Regions from separate parts of the Homo sapiens genome. Here region 2 is linked to region 1. The links are contacts of gene promoters, found by promoter capture Hi-C in blood cells and fetal thymus (Javierre and others, 2016). All regions are on one chromosome and are shown on one strand. The core of a region is centred on a gene start or on the middle of the fragment in contact, and the rest is flanking DNA. Distances in the headings are between cores, read along the strand shown.

What was found. Contacts are between HindIII fragments. The CHiCAGO score rates a contact against its expected background, and 5 or more counts as called.
Region 2: a contact is called between a fragment that was not itself captured here and the fragment with the promoter of MGAT4A in region 1, in 1 of 17 cell types (fetal thymus). The highest score is 5.5, in fetal thymus.

Annotation. Positions count from the first base shown.
Region 1 is chr2:98,728,263-98,734,961 of GRCh38, forward strand. MGAT4A (alpha-1,3-mannosyl-glycoprotein 4-beta-N-acetylglucosaminyltransferase A) reads right to left here and starts at 2,870. Exons shown (of 16, transcript NM_012214.3): 1 at 2,786-2,870. LOC107985922 (a long non-coding RNA gene) reads left to right here and starts at 3,019. Exons shown (of 2, transcript XR_007087150.1): 1 at 3,019-3,433. RefSeq lists silencers at 2,878-3,207, 3,228-3,417, 3,524-3,818. The HindIII fragment of the contact is 4,047 bases long and covers 814-4,860 here.
Region 2 is chr2:97,658,555-97,665,253 of GRCh38, forward strand. It overlaps ACTR1B (actin related protein 1B), which reads right to left and starts at 5,490. Exons shown (of 11, transcript NM_005735.4): 1 at 5,289-5,490; 2 at 3,328-3,392; 3 at 2,017-2,092; 4 at 798-923; 5 at 325-449; 6 at 1-89. The coding sequence starts at 5,336. It overlaps LOC124900516 (U4 spliceosomal RNA), which reads right to left and starts at 6,177; the gene lies at 6,037-6,177. It also overlaps a transcript of C2orf92 not described here and the pseudogene RNU4-8P. RefSeq lists enhancers at 3,952-4,593, 4,559-4,628, 5,669-6,008 and silencers at 4,989-5,048, 5,129-5,588. The HindIII fragment of the contact is 5,176 bases long and covers 1-4,094 here.

The DNA of each region.
Region 1 (6,699 bases), core at 1,620-4,119:
CCTCAGACAGCAGCTCTACCTTCCACATAATATTCTAGAAGCACCTAACCTCTTTTACTACCTGAACACAAAGAGATCTAAAAATATTCTCATGCAGAAGTTATCATTGTTCTCTAAGATTGAACTTATTCACCTTCTACAGTTAAGACAAGTTAACATCAAACATGCCCACGTCTACAGTTTAGAATTAAAATCTTCACAGTGGCCAGGTGTGGTGGCTCATGCCTGTAATCCTAGCACTTTGGGAGGCTGAGGCAGGCAGATTACCCGAGGTCAGGAGTTCAAGGCCAGCCTGGCCAACATGACGAAACCCTGTCTCTATTAAAAATACAAAAATTAGCCAGGAGTGGTGGCAGGTGCCTGTAATCCCAGCTTACTCGGGAGGCTGAGGCAGGAGAATTACTTGAACCTGGGAGGCAGAGGTTGCAGTGAGCCGAGATCACACCACTGCACTCCAGCCTGGGTGACAGAGACTCAGTTTGAAAAAAAAAAAAAACTTCATAGCAAGACTGCTCTAATTGTCTTAAATCAATAAGCACCCAATAATGAATTCTGATTATAAAAACACGGGTGATAATTCTATGAATTATATAACTTGGAACATTAATCCCGGTGTGGCATTATATTAAAATACTTATAACTTTCAGCTGCTATCTACTTAGCCCTATTTTACTTGAGAAAGAATTTTGTTCTAGTAAAAGATCTAAAAAGCATACAGGTTATTAGAGTAAGCACTCAATTCATAATAACGGGGAGGTAGAGCGCACATCATATAGTTAAGGATATTTTAAAAGTTTTACTAAATACAAATAAAGCTTGTAAAAACATTCCGTAGAAATGCATAGAGACAAGTAAATGAACTCTAAAACCAAAGTAAACTATTGATATACTACCCCTAATATATGAAAAAAAAAAAATACTGGATCCAGTAAGTTATGAAACTCTGAAGATACTTACAATAAATTCTACTAGCAAATAAGCCCTGAAATTTTGCAAGAAAAATATGCGTGTTTTACTCAGTAAGAATGTAGTCATACATTTTTAATTAGGGTTTCCCAGCTAATAAGTTTAACTGCACGGCACAAGTGAAGAAACTCTTCGGACAAGAGTAAAACCAAGGATCTACTCACTCTTCAATTATGAGACATAATTCACAGGCTGGCTTGTAAGACACAGGTGACCCACATTTTTATTAGTGTCCACATTTGCAAAAATTTTAATCTAGCCCCTTAATATTCTCGGAGACTATAATCTAACACGTTTGAATCTTTAACAACAACAAAAAAAGGTAGTGGCTAAAATTGCTAGTCATTTCTCCACCCTCCCAAAGGTGAATGGAACTTTCAACTCTAGACATCAGACTGTTTTGTTAGCAATCCTTTAAGGGCTTCAGTCTTCATTTTATTATTGGATACAAAACCTTTACTTATTTTAAAGTGTTCTCTGAAATACTCAATATAGTCCACGGCTGAGAACACTTTGCCGAACGTTTGGCATCTTCCTTAATCAGCATCCCACAGACAGGGTAGAGGTGACTTAAGAATGAAAGGCACAATAATCCCTGATATCTGGAATCAATAAAATCCATGACGTAAGCCTATATAACTTTACACACCACAATTGTGGCAAAATTCATTTATTTGCCATTTATAAACGGGTCAGTAGTTTTCTTTAATACAGCTTACGTAATGTCATCGCCCAGTGCGTTTTCGGGTTTACACGTGTGGGTTAAAGAAATCTATGTCAAGATAACCTGTTCATCAAACTGTTTTTTAAACATTCAGAAAAAGAAACATAAACCACAAAACGCATATTTTTATTCTAAATTTACAGTCTACGTTCCAACGAACGACTGTCATTATCTTTTATCAAATAATCTGTCCAACAGCAAAAGCACAACAGCAAAATACGTGGAAAGCATTCAAAGCATACATTGTGCCTGCTTCTATTTTCCAATGCGGAATGTAGGCAATGAAACCGCTCCAGAGAAACACACTGTTGCGAGGAATAAAGGCGGGTGTGCAAGTGGCTCGACTGCCAGCTCAGAAAAGCTCGCCTCCGAGATGTCACCTGGCACACTTGGTGGAGTCACCGAGACCCAGCCTCAGGGTCCTACTGCAGCTTCCTCATTACGGAGAGAGCTGAGGCCTGGGGAAACGGGGGCTGCTCTTTCACGCGGGCCCCGCAGCCCTTCACTTTGTGTGAAAATTCCCTGCGAAGGCTGCACGGCCGGTCCCCTCGGGAGCAGCCCCTGCCCCTGCGCCTCGGACCGTCCGGCCCCGCCCACCTGCCCCGCGGCCCCCGCGAAAGCGCCGACTCCCGCGCAGCCCCCGGGTCCCACAGGCAGCTGTCCCTCCCCCTCCGCACCCCCCGGATCAGCACTTTGCTCCACTTTCCCCCAAAGTCGCCGAGCCCCGCCACGCCGGGGAGCGCCAGGAACGCACCAGGCGCCGAGCCGGCCGCAGAGAGGGCGCGCGACCCCGAGGGGTGCGCGGTGCGGGGCAGGGACGCTGGGAGGACGGCCCGGCCCGCGCCCCGCCGCCCGCCCCCGAGGCCCAGCCGCTCCCGGAGCCGGCCCCGCGCCCAGAGGCGCCAACAGCTCCCCCGCACAGAGCTCCGGCCGGGCCGCGGCGCAGTAGGCTCCTTTACCAGCAGGTGGATCTCCCGCAGCCCGGGGCCGCCAGCCCGGCCGCCGGCGCCGCCCCCAACTCCCGCGCCCTCCGCGCAGCCGCCCCGCGCCCCCTCCCGCCCCCGCGCGCCGCCGCTGCCGCCGCGAGCCCCTCACCCGCCGCTGGCGTCGCCGTGCTCCCGCGGCTGCCGGCGGAGCTGCTGTAGCCGCCGCCGCCGCTGCCGCCGCCGCTGCGGGCCGCCCCGCCCGCCCCGCCGGCTCCGCCCCCGCCGCTGGAGCGCCCGCCCCGCCCCGCCCCGCCGGGCCGCCCCGACCCCGCCAGCCATTGGCCGGCCCCGCGGGCCCCGCGCCCCGCGCCCCGCGCCCCACCAGTGGCCCGCGCGACTGTCACTTAGGGGCGCCGCCACGCAGCCTGCGGAGCGTTCGGGAGGCTGGCCCGGCTCATCGGTGTCACGGCGAGGTCCGGAGCGGAGCCGCGGTCTCGGGTCCCAGCTCTGGGCGCCGGCCTGCTCCCCGCCGCCCCGCTGCCACATCTGGCTGAGATCCTCCCGGCGCGTGCAGGGACCGCTCCGGCGGCCAACAAAGGCCCGGGCGAGCCCTCGGCCTGCGCCTCGGCGCGCGACCCGACCACCCGGGGCTGCCCCAGCTCCCAGGCGCCTGCCTGCCTCGACCCGGCCCCTTCCCAGCGGCGCGCCCCGCTCCGGGCCGCCCAAACTGGGCGGCCTCCCCGGGGACAGGTCCCGGGCCCAGCCCCACAGGAGCTCCCGAGGCCCCGCGGACGGTCGCGACAGCCCCAACTTCCCGGTGAGAACCCCGCGAATCGGCCAGAAGGGCTGATTTCAGCAACTGGGAAGGAGAAAAACAACTAGGGTTTCAACGCACATCGTTGGGTGCTAATGCCCCTGATTTTCCACTATGCCCCGTTTTCTTGAACCCCATGTCCTTATCTGTCGCCGTTTCACAAGGTTAGAGGTTAACTTCAAAGGCAAAAAACTGACTCGTTTGTAGAAAGCCTGGGTGGTCTGTCCCTGTTTTTCATAGTATCCATAGGACTTGTGCTAACAGTAACTACCCCTGGGTACGTCCTCTTTTGAATACTTAACTGTATAGCAGGCAACCGTATAGCAGGCATGGGTGTTAGATCGTTTATTGCATATCTCATGTTTTAAATTTATTCCCCATTTTTCATAAGAGGAAACTAGCTGAGAGGTGAAAGGGCTTGCCCAAGGTCACACAGCTGGTAATGGTTCAAAAACAAGGGATGTGTTAACTTTATTGCCGCAATAATCCTTACAGCAATCCTACCGAGTAACCTGTAAGGGAATTGAGGGGCCAAAGATCAAGGAGGCAGCCTTGTTCCTGCCAAACTCCCAAAGTAATAAGTAGATTCTTTTCAGAAAACAGTAATTTCAATAATCGAAAACTCTTAAGAGGCATCAATCAGAACAGGGTCCCCTCCCCACCTCCGATAAATTCCATTATTTTTATCTCAAGATAAGAATAATTAATAATCAGCTAGAACATGCATGGAGTTATCAGCCTTCCCATGTTGAGGTTTCTCCATGACGGCTAATTTAAAACTTCAGGAAGAGACACGTAACATCCCTGCTCCCATAGTCTCTTACTAGTTTAGGGGAACCATACCAAAAGATCTGTCCACTGCCCAGCACTGTGGACACAACTTGGGGGATCACAGCCATGATATCCAATGACAGCTCTTCCCTCTACTTTGAGTGTGTTTTCTCTCTACTTCCGGTTTGGCTGTGTCCCCACCCAAATATCATCTTGAATTGTAAATCCCACAATTCCTGTGTGGTGGGAGGAACCTGGTGGGAGGTAATTGAATCATGGGGGAGGGTCTTTCCCATGCTGTTCTCGTGATAGTGAATAAGTCTCACGAAATCTGATGGTTTTAAAAAAGGGAGTTTTGCTGCACAAACTCTCTTTGCCTGCCACCATCCATGTAAGAAGTGACTTGCTCCTCCTTGCCTTCCACCATGATTGTGAGGCCTCCCCTGCCATGTGGAACTGTAACTCCATTGAACCTCTTTTGTCCGTTGCCCAGTCTTGGGTATGTCTTTATCAGCAGCATGAAAACGGACGAATACATTGGGGACCTGAAAGCCAGGTTTCCTGTATTCTATGACAAAGCCATTGCCAAGTAGCAAGCTGGCAATTTGATTCATGACCAGATGTAAACAGAGGTAAAGACTGAGACCATTCCAAGGTAAAGCTTTTAATACATTGTTGGATATATCCTGCCTAAAATATCTCCTAGGAATAGATGATTCTAGGCTTTGCTATTACAGTGCTCTTAATGACAGACAAGCAAACTACTTCTTGCAGAGGAAGAAAGTCCTGCCATTTGATAACATCATGGAGAATGCCCCCAAGCCATTTTCATGAATTACCCAAAAGACCAAATGGAACAGGAGCTATTATCCCTATTTTATTCACGAAGAAACTGAGGCCCTGAGAAATTAAGACATTTGACAGATACAAACAGTAATTTAGGCAATTAGTAAATGTTTGAATCAGAGTTCAAATCCAGGTCTGTTTGATTCCAGAGCCCCTACATCACCCCTCCAGACTATCTCTCTGCTCACATCTTCAGCAAGTTACAAAATTTTGTTGAGTGGATGAATATTTTTACATATATTTCCCAGCTGGGCACAGTGGCTCATGCCCATAATCCCAGCACTTTGGGAGGCAGAGGTAGGAGGATTGCTTGAGCCCAGGAGTTCGAGACCGGCCGGGGAAACAGAGAGAGACCCATGTCTTTAAAAAAATAAAAATTAAAAATTAGCCTGGTGTGCATGCATCAGTAGTCCCAGCTACTGGGAAGGCTGAGGCATGAGGATCATTTGAGCCCAGGAGTTCCAGGCTGCAATGAAATATGATCATGCCACTGCACTACAGCCTGGGTGACAGAGTGAGACCCTGTCTCTCTCTCTCTCTCTCTCTCTCTCTCTCTCTCTCTCTCTCTCTCAAAAGAAAGAAAAAAAAAAGCCAGGTGTGGTGGCTCACTCCTGTAATCCCAGCACTTTGGGAGGCTGAGGCGGGCAGATCACCTGAGGTTCAGGAGTTCAAGACCAGTCTGACCAACAGTGTGAAACCCTGTCTCTATTAAAAATACAAAAATTAGCTGGGCATGGTTGTGCGTGCCTATAATCCCAGCTACTTGGGAGGCTGAGGCAGGAGAATCGCTTGAACTCAGGAGGCAGAGGTCACAGTGAGCCAAGATCGCGCCATTGCACTCCAGCCTGGGCAACAAGAGTGAAACTCCATCAAAAAAAAAAAAAAGATGTTTCTCTTCACCTTCTCCAGTTTTTTCTCTTAGTGAAGGAAGGAAATGAAAGCATTTACAGACATTCTATAAGCAGAGGCATATGTCAGAGGAGAAAGGAATAGGGGGAAGGACAAACTTCAGTTATAGACTCCACCGGCTTATTCAGATAAAAAGCGGAATTTCCCCTGCACTCTGGGTAGTGGAGGAAGCACAGCAGAAGACAAAAAGTGTACAGGAAAAACACAACTGCTTTCACTTGGAGGCTTTTTTGATACTTCGTTGCTGCTTCAACTGGCAGCAGAAGGGCAGGTTTTGGAAAATAGGGTTACACTTATCTCAAACCATATACATTGTAGCTCAGGAAAGTCTGGATTTCAGTGAGTTGTCCCAAGAAACTGGAATGCCATAGAATATATTATTCCAAGGTATAGGGTATAATTGGTTGATGATTCATGTTAACTTAGCAGAGTTTATGATCCTGGATTTTCCAACTAAGTCCATAGTATCTGTTAATAATCAAAGACAATCCATCCAAACCCCACTGAATCCCATTCCATATCTTTTTCTCTTTTTAATATTGTTGATGATGATTCTCCTCCTCTATCACTTCCTTTTTATTTATTCTCTACTTCTACAGTTTCTGTTTCTGCCTTTATTTCTCAGTGGAATTGTACCCAAGAGGTTCTGCCAGAACTTTACCATTTATTTTGTAGTCTGTCCCCAACAAAGCTTCTATGTTGAGGCTGTTTTCCTTTCCACACACATTTTTGCTGTTCCACAA
Region 2 (6,699 bases), core at 257-2,756, 1.1 Mb before region 1:
GCATGGCAAAGCCCTCATAGATGGGCACAGCATGAGTGACCCCGTCCCCTGAGTCTAGAACCACTCCTGTCGTGCGTCCTGTTGCGTACCTGTCACCAGGTCAGCATCCCCTCACCTCAGCCACTGAGGCACGGGGACCTCCTCACCCAGGGGAGGAACCCTGGCACATCTGCATTATCTAGTCTGAAGAGAGGACACGAGGGACTCCCTAGAGGAACAGTCATCAAGGGGCTGTTTTTCCAGGGAAGTCAGACCCTGGTCATGGCAAGCAGGACGGCACAGGGAGGACAGGACTCAGGGAGGCCAGGCTTAGGGAGCACTCACAGACTGAGCACAGCCTGCATGGAGATGAACAGGGCCGGCACGTTGAAGGTCTCAAAGAACACCTCTGCCGCCTTCTCCCGGTTCTTACTCGGGTTGAGCGGGGCCTCCGTGAGGAGCACAGGATGCTGCGAGGGACGGGACAGTTGTAGGCATCAGAGGAGGCAACTTGCAAGGCCCTAAAAGGCTCTTTCCAGAGAACCACACCCGCTGGCGCACAGGCAGCTCAGCCTCCTACCCCTCCTGAGGGCCCCATCCCTTTATCTGCTGGCAGTTACTCTTCCGGAGATCCGGCTCTCTTTGGAAGATTCTGCCTAGCAGCCACTGGGTACGTATGCGCACCCAGACACACACGGAAAGGCAGCAGGCCCTCTAGAAATGTAGAAGGGAAATGTGGGAGCCCGGCGAGGAGGGACGCAGAGGAGAGGGGCATGGCCAGGAGAATGCAGAGCATGCAGGAGGGGCAGCCGCCACACCTCCTCCGAGAAGGTCTGCAGCTGATCCTTGGAGTAGACGTACTGCCAGATGCGTTCCATGTCGTTCCAGTCTCGCACCACGCCGTGCTCCATGGGGTAGCGGATGGTCAGCAGCCCCCGGTGCTCCTGGTGGGGTGGGAAGGGAGGTGTGGCACCCGGCCCTTGCTCAGCGGCTGCTTTCCGCCCTCCTGGAAGCTGACCCTCACCTGCCCTGACCAGAACCTCACCTGCCCTGACCAGAACCACCCCTGCTCACTGGGTGTCCCAGGGTCTGTGGCGGGTCCTGAACTCAGCATGGGCTCACCTGCCCACCAGCTTCTTAGGCTCTTAGAGCCCAGCTAGCTTCAGCTGGGGGGATCAGAGAGGGTGGCAGTGTGCCCCGCAATCTGCAGGCTCTCTTCTTCCCCATTCTCACTGCCGGCACATCCCCCACATTCTCCTCACACTCTGCCAGCTCCCCTCTGGCCAGCGCCGGCACCTTGCAGCCGCCCAACACGGCCCCTCCTGGGCCACCTGTGCCCCCTGACCTACGCCTCTCCCCCCAGCCCTTTGGCCGGTCCTCACCAGTCCCCTGTTTGCACTGACATGCTGCCTCCACCTGCCCTTCGATGTCCCCCCAGCCATGCCCCTTCTCACCTAGCACCACTTAGCTCCTCTCACCACCTCGGCTCCTACGGACCCCATCTGCGAGACCCCCACCCTCTGCACCTCCAGCTCAGGCCTCCCCTTTCTGGGCCCAGAACCACGCATGCCCCACGCCCCGGCACCCGACACAATGCTCCTCAGGCGCCTAAACTGCCCTTGGCCAAGCTCAGCTTGCTGCTCTCCCCACACCCACACATGCTCTCCTGAGGGTCTGATCAGGCCATGCAGCCCCTTGGTGGGACACTCCGGCTTCACTGTGAGAGGCGGCCCCATGGCCCTCATTAGAGCAGACGTGAAGTGTGTGTGATTCTGACTCTTATATCACTTTTTGATCAGTTCTTGGTTCTGTAGCTTCCAAATAGCTTCTAAAAGACAGGACACGATGAGCTCTACCCATGCTCCCTAGAAGAGGAACTGCTGCCCCATCTCAGGGGGAGGTGCCCCTGCACAGCACTTCCCAGCTGGAGCCTGGAGGAGGTACCCGGGAGGTCACCAGCAGAGGCCCAAGAACACATGCCATGTTCCTGCAACTGAGGACCCCACCCCCAGGGAAAGGCAGGCTCCTCGGTGTTACCTCTGCTTTTGGTCCGATGAAGAGGTCCCCCTCCAGGGCTCCAGCCATCACCCGCATGTGCTTCGGCCGCCCGACACTGTTAGGACGGATAACGTCAGCAAGGTGGGCAGGGAGCATGGCAGAGCTTGTGTCCAGAAAAACCGAAATCCAACCATAGTCGCCCAGAGGGTACCTGGCCTCCAAACACCAGGATGTGGCTGGGGGGCACAGGTTGGAACTGGGGCCTATGGGGTTCGGGGCTAGAGAGGGGGCCTAGGCAGGACGAGAAGCTCAGGGTCAGAAGGCACGGTCAGCAGAGACAGCTGCATGTCTGAGCGCCAGAACCCAGCCCTCCATGGCCCAGCCCTTGCAGAGGGTCGGCTTCCTGCAGCCACAGTGACTCAGCCCACGCTCCTGACTTCGGTGGGGCAGGGCTGCCGTCACCATCCACAGACTGAGGGAGGACAACCCCAGGAAGCTGGGTCGGGGCTCCCTTGTGCACCCTGCTCTCACTCAGTCAAGCGCCCTACCCCACTGCCAGCGCTTCTGGATCAGAGATTCAGTTCTTGGAAACTATAGGATCTGATGAGCTACCACTAAAGGCAAAGGAACCTCTAATTATACCCATGCAGTCAGAAAGGAATGCTGAAGCTCGACAGGGCGCACCATGCTAGCTCTGTCCCAGACCAGGCCGGGCTCGGGCTAGCCTGCCACTCGGGGCCTAGGATCCCCTGCTGCCCGCTGCCTTTAGGCCACTCATTCCAAAGCCTCCAGGATTTGTGAAGAGGTGCCCCTAAGGGCAACTTTCCCAATGGGCTCGTGGTGGGTGCAAGGGGCACCCCAGGCTCTCTGGGTTTGCAATTCTTATTCCCGCCCCCACCAGTACCATACAGGGCAAAGGATCCCCTCTTAACTGAAACAAGACATTTTCTAGAGTCTGAAAACAAGCCCGGCAGAAAACACTTCCAGGGAGGAAAGGGTGGCTGTGCATCTAATTCCTCACTCTTCCTGCTCCGAGTTTAGGGCTCCCCTCGGAGATGTCTCCCTTTATTCTTGCTGCTGCTACCACACCCCATCCCCAGGGAAATGCTGGTTGCTTTTCCTCCTTGCTGGCTCAACAAGACCAAAACGAGAGACTCCCAAGACAAAGGGGAACCCTAGAACGCTTGTCTTGTTCTTTCAGTGCTCTCTCAAGAGTGTCAACCTCACAAATTTGGTGTTTTCCATACAGGTCAGGGCACAAATTGTCTTCAAAGAGCCCTGTGACAGAAGGCCAATGTTCTTACAGAAGGTAAACAAAAGGACTAAGGCTGCTGCCTGAGCCACACTTACTAGTTTGGGAAACAGTATTTGGGAATCTGGTCTCCTGCAAAGCCAGCTTTAATCACCCCCGAACCCTGCAAGGAAAAACAAAGTTGAGCTGCCCACATGCACCACCAGATGAAGCCAGTCCCCCGCAATGGAGAGAGCTGGCTGCCCCGTCAAGGCAGGCCAAGGAGGAAGCCAGGGACCCTGCCAGGATCATTTACAAGTACACCTATGGTTCAAGATTGGGGGCAATTTTGTATCCCCCTGCTCTGGCAACATTTGGCAATGTCTGGCAGCTGGGGAGAGGGGACATGCAGTGGGGGATGCTATTGGCATCTAGTGGGCAGAGGCCAAGGATGCTGCTCAACATCCTACGATGCACAGGCGAGCCTGCACTACCAACAAGGAGCTAGCCCAGAATGTCAATAATATAGAGATAGAGAAACCACGAAGGGCACCTTCCTCTGCACAACTAATGGTTGGCTCCAGCAGGATTCCATAGCACATGCTACTCCCAAAAGCTAGAAGAAACCCCTCTGTGTGGGTCTTTTTTTTTTTTTTTCAACAGCTTCCTTCTCCCCCAAGAACCCAGAAGGCATGGAACATGGACGACCTACAGGGCCTGCTGGAGAAGACCAATGGGTGCATGGGATGACCGGCAGCTTCCCTCAAGTGGCTTCCCAGAGACTACTAGGAGAACTTGGTCCTATCGCTGCCCCCACCTGGAAGCTGGACTTAAGGATCCCCCAAAGAACGGGGCAATTAGAAACCTCCCACCCAGCGAAGGGATAAGCTTCTCAACTCAGTCCCACCACTCTTCATCGCAACCCTCTGAGTCTGCAGCAGAAACAAACATCTCCAAGTTACAGAGGAGGGGATGGAATCCCCAAGGGGCCGAGCGGTAGCCCTTTTAACTTATAAGCCTGTTGATTAGCCTATACGAGTTATTTGCACGTCAAGAAAGGAAGTAGCCTGCTCCTTCCTGCAGCGTCCTGCTGGTGTGACAGCACGTCCCCAAGCTCAGTGCTAACCTCCTTATTAAACATCCCCTGCTGTGACTCAGGGAACCCACATGGGTACTCTAAAACAGTCATTCAGGGACCCCACGGGGTCATGTGGGAGGGAGACAGATCCCAGAAAGAGCACAAGTGAGTCATTACCAAAAACTCCAAGGCCCGCACACCGGACGCACATACCCAGCTAGGGGCAGACTCAAAGATCCCAGCCCTTATCTTCTCCCCATATCAGAGCTCGGAAGCCAGAAATCTTCCTAAGGCAGGTGAAAGCAAGCCGAGCCCCACTGCTGAAGGACAAAGCCACAGGAAGCCTGATGACATCTTTCCTCTGAGGCTTCCAAACGATCACCCCAAATTGCTTGCTGATACTGGGAAGAGTGGCCATGAACTCTCCATTGCTCTGCTGGCTGTGGAATGTTTGCTCAGCACAGGAAGCATTTAAGGAGAAAGTCAAAGTAGCCAAAAGGCAAACCAGATGGTGGTGGACATGTGGGTGACAGAGCATCCTGCATTTGTTGCCTCGGGGTGCAGCCCCAAAGATAAAGCCAGCAGTGTGCAAATGACAAATGCTACCCCACCTCCGCCAGGCAGCCAGAGCCAGGGCCGAAGGACGCGGAAAGGAACTGGTGTGGAAACCTGCCCAGGAACCGCACTCTCAACTGAGAAGAGTCCGGGGCGCGTCCCCGCCCGGCCGCCCGGCTGTCACTCAAGCTCTCCTGAACTTCCCCGCCCGACTCGGGGAGGGGTCGGGGAAGAGGCTCTGCGACGCGGGCGAGGGGGCTCGCCCCATGGCCGGCCTTACAAGGCCAAGAGGGCGCGCGCCCCCGGGGCGAAGCCAGCGGCCCGGCGGGGGCGACGGCCACGCAGTGAGCGGAGGACGCGCCGAGGCGGGCGGGGGTCTCTCCCTGCGCCGCCGCGTGCGCCCCCGGGGGCGGGGCGCCCGCCCTCCCCCTGGCTGCCGGGCCTCACGTTGTCGATGACCACAGGCTGGTTGGCGATGATGTCGTAGGACTCCATGGCCGGGCCGCGCCGGCCCTGCCCAGCAGGCGGGCTGCAGGAGGCACCGGATGGGCGGGCGGGCGGGAGGACCGGGACGGCGGCGGCTCCCGACGCGGCGCCGCTGCCCTCCCTCCCCGAGCCTGCAGCCTACGCGAGCCCCGCGGGGCTTTCTGGAGGGCGGGCCCGGCGGCCAATCATCGCTCCCACCTGGCCCGATTGACAGCAGGTGCCCGGGGCTGGCTGCGCGAAGGGGGCGGGGCCTCCGGAGGCTGGCCAGCCAATTGAGGTCGTCCGGAAAAAAGTGGTCGCGGCGTTGCCAAGGTAGGCTGCGCAGTGTCTGGGATGATGTCATGGCTCCGTCTTAAAGGGGACGCGGGCGGCAGAAAGTGGAGCTGGGCTGGTGTGCGCGCGGCCGGAGTCTGTGGAGCTGGAAATTCACCGGTCCAGGAAGACGTCTTTCCCGCGTCCCAGCACCGGTCCAGAAAGACGTCTTTCCCGCGTCCCAGCACCTCGGGCCACGCTCCTTCGTGAGAGCGCCCTCTCCAAGGAGGCCGGCCCTGGATATTTCACCCAAAATATTTATTTTTTCTTTTTTTCTAGGTAAGGTGTCTTGCTCTGTCGCTCAGGCTGGAAATCTTGGGCTCAAGCGATCCTCCCGCGCCAGCCAGTAGGGGGGACTACAGGCGCGCACCATATTTATTTATTTTTACTGAAATAGTCTCCGTAGAGACTGTTAAAAATTGCCGATGTCGACTATATTGCAAGTCGTCACGGTGGGGTATTGCGAAAAGTTTTCAATTAGCAATAATCGCGCTTCGGATAAACCTCATTGGCCACCATACGGCCACCGCGCAACGCTAGCTAATTAAAAAAAATTTTTTTTGTAGAGAAGGGATCTCGCTATGTTCCCCGGGCTAGCCTCGAACTCCTGAGCTTAAGCGATCCTCCCGCTTAGTCTTTCCAAAGCGTTGGGATTACAGGCGTCAGCTATTGCGCACGGCCCCATAATATTTCCTCGTTGAGCACTGAAGAAAAGATCCTTTTCCTTATAAAAATTACAGTTTCGTGGTATTTTGGTCCTGGCATTTATTGAGCACCTGCTCTGTGCCTGCGGAGCACTTCTGCCCACTTTACATAAGTTATATTAAATCCTTGCAACAATATCAGGTAGTTGTATTATTACTCCCATTTTTCAGTCAGGGTCTTCACACTTTGGTAACCTGCCCAAGATTATTGGGTGTGGAATTGGCATGCAGGTAGCCCCCTGCGGCACTGGAGTCAGCTGCTTCAAGAGTGCAGGATAGTTGAGTTCTACATTTGTTTACCAAACGGATCCATAGTTATTTCCCTGTATATATACCTCTCCCAATGGGTTGTGAGC